2 separate regions of the Homo sapiens genome follow, and region 2 is linked to region 1. The links are contacts of gene promoters, found by promoter capture Hi-C in human tissues and cell types (Jung and others, 2019). All regions are on one chromosome and are shown on one strand. Each heading gives the region's core, a stretch centred on a gene start or on the middle of the fragment in contact. The rest is flanking DNA. Distances are from core to core; before and after follow the strand shown.

Region 1 (5,557 bases), core at 3,058-5,557:
CCTCCCAATTTAATAGAAGAGACAGCTGAGACAGAGTGAAGGTAGGAGAAGTCAGGGCAAGGATTGAGCCTGGTCTTGATTCTGAATCCCCTGTGCTTTCCTTGTATCACCTGAATCTCAAGCAATACTTTGGGCTCCAGACTCTCTGAGGGGAGGAGAAGGAGAAGGGATGTTCTATGTGTGTGACTGCAAAGTCCTCACCACACCTTCTAGGCACTTATGAGCAAGGAGATACATATTATGAAATGTGGCATTTGGGAATGTTCTAAGACCACCCTAATGCTATTAAGAGTGCCGGGCGCGGTGGCTCACACCTGTAATCCCAGCACTTTGGGAGACCAAGTCGGGCGGATCATGAGGTCAGGAGTTCGAGACCAGCCTGACCAATATGGTGAAACCCTGTCTCTACTAAAAATACAAAAATTAGCCGGGTGTGGTGGCGTGCGCCTGTAGTCCCAGCTACTCAGGAGACTGAGACAGAAGAATCGTTTGAACCCAGGAGGTGGAGGTTGCGGTGAGCCGAGATCACAACACTGCACTCCACCCTGGGCGACGGAGTGAGACTCCATCCCAAAAAAAAAAAAGAGAGAGAGGGCAGAGTGGACAGAGAGTCAAATGAGAGGAGGTCTGGGTTCTGGCCATAGGCCAGCTACTGACATCCCAAGTAAACGTGAGCAAGTTTCTGAGGTCCCCATGATCCCCATGTCTGGGACATAAATGGGAAAAAGATGATAGATAGATAATAAATAGAGGCTCAGCTTAGACAAAAAGGCATCTGCAATCCTTGTCATCATTACTTTGACTTTGAAATCAACAATTTAGAGAGCCCACTACCACGAAATTAAAAAATTCTAAAATTTTTTAAAAAACAAAACAGTATAACTTAAAGAGTTCTGCCAACTTCTCAAAAAAAAAAAAATCAGAGAGCACAACATTGAATTTTTTTTTCTTTTTTTTATTTTGGCAGAGGAAGATTGAGTTCCTGGAAATGCTTACAAAATGATTCCTGACACTGGGAGGAGATAGTTAGAAAAAAGAAGAAGAAAAATTATACACATATATAGATAAAGGAAGAAGGTGGAAAGAAAGGGAATAGACAAAAGAAAATAAAGAACTAAAAGAGAAAGAAAAAAAAAGACTTTAAAGGGCCCCAATTGAAGCAACATTATCAAGTTCTCAGCATCTGCAATTCACAAGCCGCTCGCGGTTGGGGCGATGCAGACCCCGCCCCTTTCTCGGGTGTCCGGCGCTCATTGGTGGGGGAGGCAGTCGCCGGCCGGTGACTGCCCGAGGAAAGGTTGCCTGGGACACGCATCCCTGTGTGAACGCATGACGTCCCACCCTGGCGCCAGGCTGTCTGGGGCTGAGTCTTAGATCAACACAGCTGTGGGACCGGGACCCACAGCTGGGCAAAGGAGCGGATTCCTCAACAAAAAATAGGATTGTGAGAAAAGTTCTGAAACAAAAACAGCGCAGACAAAAGCCTTAATGACATCCTTTCATAAAAATAAAAAATGCAAGAGGGGGGAAAAAGCTGGTAAAAGGAGCAGAACTGGGAACAGAAAGTTCAGAGGCATTTGGAATAAGAGGCTGAGGCCCCACCACTGCTAAACAAGTTGCAGAAGGCCTGAGCTAGCCTGTCCAGTCTGCTGTGGGGAAAAAGAAGTCTCTTGGGTTTAAACACTATTCAGTGTTCCTAACCATAACCTGCTTCTTTCAGAATTAGAATCTTAGGCTAGAGAGGACCATTAAAGGGCACTTGCTTCCTCCCAACCTACCCACTATCTTTTTTTTTTTTTTTTTTTTAAAGAGAAAATGAAGCCCAGGAAGGGAGGAAATTCGTCCAAGGGCACACTGCAAATTATTGGCATGCACAGAACAGAATTTTGCTTGCTAATTCCACAGCATCCTTCTGCCTTATGTCACACAGCCCATGGGCATTTCAGCCTGGAAGCATCCTGGGAAATAATAAATGCGAAGGTGCTTTGCAAACCTAAATCACTATACAAGCCTGAGGCATCAGCTGCAGTAGTAGAGGAAGGAAAAGAAGGGAGGAGAATCTGGGTAGACTGAGCACCTTCCACACAACTGGCCCATGCTGGGTCCCCCAGGCAGTAAGAAGACTAAGATCAGATGGAGTGAACACATCAAGTGCTTTGCAGAGAAGAGGCATTCAATAATTATCGAATGAATGAATGAGTAGACCCAATTAGTTCCATTTTATAGATGGGAAAATAGAAGCACCCAGGATAACTCAGCCAAAGTCTACACAATTAGTTTAAACAAAAAAAGAAGAAGAAGAAGAAGAATGGGCATTTGCACAGAAATCTGCCTGGCCCGTGATTTTTCTAGAACCCTCTGGACTTGACCGTTTTGCCACAGAAGTCTGCAAGATAGGAAAAGAAGGATCTTCTCTTCGGTTATTCAGGAGTTCCTACAGCCATTATTTTGCCTTTCCTGACCAAATAGCTGGCACTTGACGGCTGTAGCATGTAAAGACTGACTTGCCCACTCACAGGTTTTCTTCCTCTTTTCTTACTGAAGAGCCTGTCCTTGAAAAAAACATTCCAGGAAGAAATCTTTCTTGGGCCACAGAGCCCTGTGGTTTGATGGAAAAGAACGAGGCTTCAAGACTGGCTCTGCTATTACTTGTAGTGTGACATTGGGCATGTCTTAAATGCCTTCCTTGGGCCCCTCAGCATCTTTCACCTACATATCCAAATTTCACACAACCTTGGACTTCTACAATTGGAAAGGATTTTAAATAATCACTTAGTACCATCGTCTATTTTACTCACAAGGCAATTAAAGCCAGAGTACCTGGGCTTGTTCAAGATTACATGACAAATTATTGTCAGGGCTAGCATGATGAACCCAGGGCTCTCAATTCCCAGTCAGTGTCCTTTTCAACCGTTTTGCGACTCTCTTTGGCTCTGAGCCCCCCTTGTCCTGTTAATCAGTGCCACACATTATCGAACTCTTGTTTCCTGTGTTAATCTTGTCTCCCCAAATTGTGAGATTCTTGAAAGCAGGAGCCACTGTTTTATGCGGAGGGACTCCATAAATATTCACCAATGATTCATTAGGAAAGCAACTATTGGGGGAATCCCACTTGGTCATTTCCAAAATGGAAAGCAGCATCTTGGAAGTGCAGGTCCCCAAATGTCTAGGGAGGTGACAAGAAGGCAAGCAAAGAATCAAAGAATACTGAGCACAGTGTCCTGTTGCAATACAGGACTTAGTTTGCCGGCCCTCTGGTTCCTTTCCTGGTCTTTCAGATGGAGCTGGAGCTACTTCAGCAGGGCTAAGAATAATCAAGTCCAGGTGGCCTGCCCTTCCATAGCAGAAAGGGACAGACAATAGAGCAATGAAATTACCACTGTTTTCTACACAGAGGTGTGTGGAAAGTGAAGAGAGGGGAAGTTAAGAAATTTGCTGACCCAATTGGGTGGGGGGGGGCTCTTAAAAAGGTTTATGTAGAAATTGTCCCATCTGTGCCTCCATATTTAAAACCTTGTCCAAAATTCTAATTGAACTCACAAAGCACAACTGTGCATATATTTAGTTCGTTATGGAGTTTATGGGGCAGAGGGTCCAGGCTCCTTTTTTCCCCATGCAAAAAGCATGGGCTCAAGCTTTCTTCTTTTCCCCTGTTGCTCAAATAAATAGTGTTCTTTGCTCAAACCCCCTTTCCCTCCTCCTTCTGCAATCTCAGCGCCTAGCGCAAATCTGTTTTCTTCATTGTAACCTCAGCTTCACCGCAATTAATTTTTTTTCCCTCTGGTCACAAGATAATTCCTGACGCCAGTGAGTCTGGAGGTCAGACGAACAGCAAATTGGGGAACAAGGCGGCACTAATTCCTTACAAGTTTCCCTTGAAAAATCTTTCGCTTAAAAAAAACGGGGGGTGGGGGGAGCTTCTTTGCTGTTCAGGGATTTATGACCTCGGAGGAGCTGTGGCTCGAACCAGTGTTGGGCTAAAGGCGGACTGGCAGGGGGCAGGGAAGCTCAAAGATCTGGGGTGCTGCCAGGAAAAAGCAAATTCTGGAAGTTAATGGTTTTGAGTGATTTTTAAATCCTTGCTGGCGGAGAGGCCCGCCTCTCCCCGGTATCAGCGCTTCCTCATTCTTTGAATCCGCGGCTCCGCGGTCTTCGGCGTCAGACCAGCCGGAGGAAGCCTGTTTGCAATTTAAGCGGGCTGTGAACGCCCAGGGCCGGCGGGGGCAGGGCCGAGGCGGGCCATTTTGAATAAAGAGGCGTGCCTTCCAGGCAGGCTCTATAAGTGACCGCCGCGGCGAGCGTGCGCGCGTTGCAGGTCACTGTAGCGGGACTTCTTTTGGTTTTCTTTCTCTTTGGGGCACCTCTGGACTCACTCCCCAGCATGAAGGCGCTGAGCCCGGTGCGCGGCTGCTACGAGGCGGTGTGCTGCCTGTCGGAACGCAGTCTGGCCATCGCCCGGGGCCGAGGGAAGGGCCCGGCAGCTGAGGAGCCGCTGAGCTTGCTGGACGACATGAACCACTGCTACTCCCGCCTGCGGGAACTGGTACCCGGAGTCCCGAGAGGCACTCAGCTTAGCCAGGTGGAAATCCTACAGCGCGTCATCGACTACATTCTCGACCTGCAGGTAGTCCTGGCCGAGCCAGCCCCTGGACCCCCTGATGGCCCCCACCTTCCCATCCAGGTAAGCCTCGAAGTCGGGACAGGGCTGAACACCCAGGCAAGGATGCTGCGGGACCCTCGGAGCTCCCGATTGCCTCGCGTAACTCTTCCCTCTTTTCCTCTAATCAGACAGCCGAGCTCACTCCGGAACTTGTCATCTCCAACGACAAAAGGAGCTTTTGCCACTGACTCGGCCGTGTCCTGACACCTCCAGGTGAGTATCTCCTCTCTTGGAGAGGGAGGTTTAAACGGCAAGTCCTGGAGTTGGCAGACGTTTTGAAAAATTGCCACTCACTCGGTTTAGGGAAACTGAGGCCAGAGAGGGACAAGTGACTTGCCCATGGTTGCATCAAATGAATGGCAGAGTCAGTTTCCATGTGATGTGCATTTAAGCCTTAAATGCGCCTGGGCCCTGCCCTCCCGCAGTGGCCGAGGGTCTGGCAAAGTAGACATGGGTCCGACTAAATACAAGTCTTTCTGTTCCATGTTGTATAGGGAGCTGTCTTCGGCAGCCCCCTCCCAGCTAGTGTCAATTCCAAGTAGGAGGGGTAGCGCAAGCTCCGCCTGTGGTCTTTGGCGCCAACTGGGTGGGGGCAGCGTGGGGCGCGGAGTTATCAGCTGGAGGTACAGACCAAGTTTCCTCCCTGGCGCCGGCCAGTCTGCGGACGGCCCCCGCCTCGGCACGCTCGGCGGAAACTGACTGCTCCTTGGTCTTCTTTCCTCCCCCGCCCAGAACGCAGGTGCTGGCGCCCGTTCTGCCTGGGACCCCGGGAACCTCTCCTGCCGGAAGCCGGACGGCAGGGATGGGCCCCAACTTCGCCCTGCCCACTTGACTTCACCAAATCCCTTCCTGGAGACTAAACCTGGTGCTCAGGAGCGAAGGACTGTGAACTTGTGG
Region 2 (5,557 bases), core at 1,362-3,861, 1.5 Mb after region 1:
AAGGTATTGTCCCATTTTGCAGAGAAGACGGAAGCTTCTCTGAAAGGGCTGGTGACTTGCCCCAGATCACAGGGGTGGATGGTCTCTCACTCCCCGGGCCTGTATTCAGTCCGCCGTGATGTGAGAACTGAGTATCACTCTTCTTATCTCTACCTACACCCAGTGTCCCTCGCTGTAGCCACATGGGTCTTTTTTAGAGTTACAACCTTCCCCCAACCACAGGCCTTGTGTTTTTGTTGTTGTTGTTGTTGTTGTTGTTGTTGTTTTTTCTTTGAGACGTTCTTGCTCTGTCACCCAGGCAGGAGTGCAGTGGCACGATCTCAGCTCACTGCAATCTCGACGTCCCGGCGATTCTCCCACCTCAGCCTCCCAAGTAGCTGGGACCACAGGCGCATGCCACCATGCCTGGCTAATTTTTGTATTTTTTTGTAGACACAGGGTTTTGCTGGATTGCCCAGGCTGGTCTCGAACTCCTGGACACAAGCTATCAGCCTGCCTCAGCCTCCCAAACTGCTGGGATTACAAGGTGTGAGACATTACGTCTGGCCAAGGCCTTGAATTTCTTTGCTCTGCCTCCCTCCTCTTCCCCCAAATTTATATCACTGCATTCTTCAATCATCCTATCTTCGCAGTATCTATTATTTGTCTTCTCTGCTAGTATGAAAGCTTCAGGAAAATAGAGAACTTCCCTCTCTTATTCTTAGATGTTTCCCCATGTTAGAGAAAAATCGCTTAAATTGCTTATCCTAGGCCGGGCACGGTGGCTCATGCCTGTAATCGCAGCACTTTGGGAGGCCAAGGCGGGCGGATCACGAGGTCAGGAGATCGAGACCATCCTGGCTAACACGGTGAAACCCCGCCTCTACTAAAAATACAAAAAAATTAGCCGGGCGTGGTGGCGAGCTCCTGTAGTCATAGCTACTCGAGAGGCTGAGGCAGGAGAATGGCGTGAACCCGGGAGGCGGAGCTTGCAGTGAGCCAAGATCGCGCCACTGCACTCCAGCCTGGGCAACAGAGCGAGACTCTGTCTCAAAAAAAATAAAAAAAAATTGCTTATCTTAATAACAGCTCATTTATTGTCTACTGCCACAGCTATTTGGCCAACAAAGACACTTAATTCCAGTATATTGACTTATAGTCATATTTTCTTTTGGATTTTTTTTTTTTTTTTGAGACGGAGTCTCGCTCTGTCACCCAGGCTGGAATGCAGTGGTTCGATCTCGGCTCACTGCAATCTCCGCCTCCCGGGTTCAAGCAATTCTCCTGCCTCAGCCTCCCAAGTGGCTGAGACTACAGGTGCCCACCACCATGCCCAGCTAATTTTTGTATTTTTAGTAGAGACGGGGTTTCACCATATTGGCCAAGCTGGTCTTGAACTCATGACTTTGTGATCCACCTGCCTTGGCCTCCCAAAGGGCTGCGATTACAGGTGTAAGCCACCGCACCCAGCCCTCTTTTGGATTTTTTAATTACCCAAAAATAAGAACTACATTTTTTAGTGTTTACTGCAGGTATGGCTAATAGCTTTGCAGGTAGTAGTAGCTAATTTAATACTCACAGCCACCCTATGAGTTAAGAACTGTTACCCCCACTTTATGGTTACATGAACTGAAGCTCAGAGGTGTTAAGAGACTTGTCCATAGCCGCCATGCCAAGCAGTGGCAGAGCTGAGACTTGCACTCAGGAGGCTGGCTCTAGTTGACTATGACACTACCACACTATCAAGCAGGTTTATTATAGAGAAATTAGAAGATAAGCTTCAGGCCAGGCACAGTGGCTCACATCTGTAATCCCAGCACTTTGTGAGGCTGAGGCTGGTGGATCACCTGAGGTCAGGAGTTGAAGACCAGCCTGACCAACATGGTAAAACCCCATCTGTACTAAAAAACACACACACAAAAATTTGCTCGGTGTGGTGGCAGGTGCCTGTAATCCCAGCTACTTGGGAGGCTGAGGCAGGAGAATCATTTGAATCCAGGAGGCGGAGGTTGCAGTGACCCCGAGATCATGCCATTGCACTCCAGCCTAGGCGACAAAAAAGTGAAACTCTGTCTCAAAAAAAAAAAAAAAAAAAAGCCAGGTGCGGTGGCTCACGCCTGTAATTCCAGCACTCCGGGAGGCCGAGGTGGGCGGATCACTTGAGGTCAGGAGTTCAAGACTAGCCTGACCAACATGGTGAAACCCTTTCTCTACTAAAAATACAAAAATTAGCTGGGTGTGGCATGCACTTGTATTCGCAGCTACTCGGGAGGCTGAGACAGGAGAATCGCTGGAACCTGGGAGGCAGAGGTTGCAGTGAGCCGAGATTGCGCCATTGCACTCTAGCCTGGGCAACAAGAACAAAACCCCACCTAAAAAAAAAAAACAGGAAGATAAGCTTCAGCTGTAGTCCTACCTCTAATGTGGCTCACACCTATAATCCTAACACTTTGGGAGGCCGAGGCGGGTGGATCACTTGAGCCCAGGAGTTCAAGACCAGTCTGGGCAACATAGCAAGACCTGCCCCCACCCATCTCTACAAAAAATACAAAAACAAAACAAAACAAAAAAACTACATTGTGAACATCTTTCCATGTCAAATAAAGCATCATTTGTAAAGGCTGCATTTTACTCTCCGGGCATTGCAATATTTACCCAGACTCCTACTGTTGGAATTTGGGTTGTTTTGGGCTATTGTGAATTTATTACTATTGTAAAAATGCATAAGCTTCATTTTTTAAACTTGAGGGGAAAATGGTTGTTTCTTCCCTTCACAAGTCCAGCTGGCAGTGCCCTTTCCTTCATCCTGTCTCACAATCCCATGAATGTCCCCAGACAACGTCTGCCCTTTCCAGTAGCAGCAATATCTTGATGGGGTGTCACCCAACTGTTCAGCTTTTCCTGCCTTTATTCTGAGGACAAGGACTTACTTAGCACTATGTCTTTTATGTTGTCAGGTTTTTTGTCAGAAGAACCCTCCTAGACCTTTTCACAGCCCCAAACAGCAGTGGCAATGGTGTTACTATTACTTGACCCAATCTACCATGTCCCTCACTGCTGGCCCAGCCCCCAGCCTCCTAGTGCCTCCCCGCTACTGCCCCACTGCTATAGCTGCCTCATGTTAACAGGAGGGACAGCCTGTGGGACTCCGGCTCCCTTCCCGGTGGCTACCATTCCGGTGTCCATTCTTCCTTCTGGTAACAGCACTTCCATTTCTCCTAGAGCAGCCCCTGCCCCAACTCTCAATCCATGTGGCTCTAGAGATGACACTATCTCTAGTTGCGGGAATGGACACGTGACCCAGGCTTGGCCAATCACAGCATTATAGAGAGCCCTGTTGCCACACCATTTCAGCAACAGGCATGTGACCCAATGAGATTTAATTCTGGAACTTTGGTCACAACTATTCAGTTCAGTGAATCTCTGTTTGCTGAGAGTAGGATGTAATCGTGGCACTGCTGGCAGCCAGCTTCCCACTGCAAGCAGAGATGCTGCCTGAGAATGAGACCAAGACAGAGGGGGAAACAGAACTGAGAGATGGAGACATGAAACCAAGTCCCAGTGGCATTGCATGAGACATCAGATCCAGTCTTGCTTCAATCTTCAGTCACATTAGCAATAAATTCCCTCTATTGCCTGAACGAGGTTGAGTAGGTTTCTGTTGCTTATGACTGCCAAACTCTTGATGAATCACTGCCACCCCTGCCCTGCTTGTCTGCCCATGAGGTACTTGTCCCTACCCTCTAGGTAATAACTCCCAAATCTATACCTCTTCCAACCCCTATTCCCACCCCCAATTTTTTTTTTTTTTTTTTTTTTTTTGAGACAGAGTCTCACTCTGTCAACCAGGCTGGAGTGCAATGGTGCGATCTCAGCTCACTGCAACCTCCCCTCCCAGGTTCAAGTGATTCTCCTGCCTCAGCCTCCCGAGTAGCTGGGATTGCAGGCAACTGCTACCATGCCCAGCTAATTTTTGTATTTTTTAGTAGAGATGGGGTTTCACCATGTTGGCCAGGCTGGTCTCAAACTCCTGACTACAGGCGATCCACCCGCCTCAGCCTCCCAAAGTGCTGGGATTACAGGCGTGAGCCACCGCGCCCGGCATCCTACCCCCATTTTCAAATTTCCAGCTACTCAGCACCATCAAAATCATCTTCCAGCTCCCACCTACTCCAGGGTCTAAGCACCTATGTCTGCTTTTGGCCCCTACAGCCTTGTATATCCAGGAGTTCTCAACCTTTTCTGCATCACAGATCCTATACCCACAAAATTCATATCTAATTTCTAGAGGCTCCCTTCAAGCTCTCTGCTTTAGTCCAGGCATGGTGGCTCATGCCTATAATCCCAACACTTTGGGAGGCTGAAGCGGGAGGATCACTTGAACCCAGGAGTTTGAGACCAGGCTGGGCAACATACTGAGACCTCATCTCTACAAGAAATATAAAAACCGTGTGGTGGCAAGCACCTGTAGTCCCAGCTACTTGGGGAGGCTGAGATGTGAGGGTCGCTTGAGCCTGCGATGTTGAGGCTGCAGTGAGCCATGATCATGCCAGTGCACTACACTGCACTCCAGCCTGGGTGACAAAGCAAGACCCTGTCTCAAAAAAATAAATAAAAAGAATCTCAGCTGGGTGCGGTGGCTCACGCCTCTAATCCCAGCACTTTGGGAGGCCAAGGCGGGAGGATCACGAGGTCAGGAGATCAAGACCATTGTGGCCAACATGGTGAAACCCTGTCTCTACTAAAATACAAAAAATTAGCTGGGTATAGTGGCGCTCACCTGTAGTCCTAGCTACTCAGGAGGCTGAGGCAGGGGAATCGCTTGAACCCGGAAGGCGGAGGTTTCAGTGAGCAGAGATCGCACCACTGCACTCCAGCCTGGCCACAGAGCAAGACTCCGTCTCAAAAAAAAAAAAAAAAAAAAAGAATCTCTACTTTAACTCATTTGACAAAGCACAGCATTTATCTTCCTATATCATCGCTCTGATTAGGTCACTCCCTTACTCAGAAACCTTCAGTGTTTTCTCCTTTGTCTTCAGAATAAAATTTAAGACCTTTGGTTGGGTACAGTGACTCAGACCTGTAATCCCAGCACTTTGGGAGGCCGAGGTGGGCAGATCATGAGGTCAGGAGTTTGAAACCAGCTTGACCAACATGGTGAAACCCCATCTCTACTAAAAATACAAAAATTGGCTGGGTATGTTGGTGCATGCATGTAATCCCAGCTACTCAGGAGGCTGAGGCAGGAGAATCGCTTCAATCTAGGAGGTGGAGGTTGCAGTGCCTGGGTGACAGAGAGAGACTCCATCTCAAAAAAAAAAAAAAAAATTTAAGACTTTACCCAGACATTCTATGTCCTCTATGATCTTTGCCTTTCCAAAGTGATTTCCCTTTCTTTTTGTATTAGTCATAGTTCTCCAGAGAAACAGAACCAATAGAATGGTAATATATATTATTTATATATTACATATAAAACCATTCTGGCCATGTGCAGTGCCTCACACCTGTAATCCCAGCACTCTGGGAGGCCAAGGCGGGTGGAACACTTGAGGTCAGGAGTTCGAGACCAGCCTGGCCA

What was found. Contacts are between HindIII fragments. The study calls those that stand out against the background at their distance.
Region 2: a fragment that was not itself captured here is called in contact with the fragment with the promoter of ID3 in region 1 in 1 of the 25 tissues and cell types used here (dorsolateral prefrontal cortex).

What each region holds. Positions count from the first base shown.
Region 1 is chr1:23,558,251-23,563,807 of GRCh38, reverse strand. ID3 (inhibitor of DNA binding 3) reads left to right here and starts at 4,307. Exons shown (of 3, transcript NM_002167.5): 1 at 4,307-4,681; 2 at 4,789-4,873; 3 at 5,393-5,557. The coding sequence starts at 4,382. The coding sequence ends at 4,848. The region is part of intron 2 of LOC124903876 (a long non-coding RNA gene); the gene reads right to left. RefSeq lists silencers at 3,994-4,240, 4,108-4,367 and an enhancer at 5,308-5,437. The HindIII fragment of the contact is 6,582 bases long and covers 1,479-5,557 here.
Region 2 is chr1:22,046,534-22,052,090 of GRCh38, reverse strand. No RefSeq gene overlaps it. Among named protein-coding and RNA genes, the nearest start is that of CDC42, 3.4 kb to the left of the region's middle. The HindIII fragment of the contact is 4,522 bases long and covers 351-4,872 here.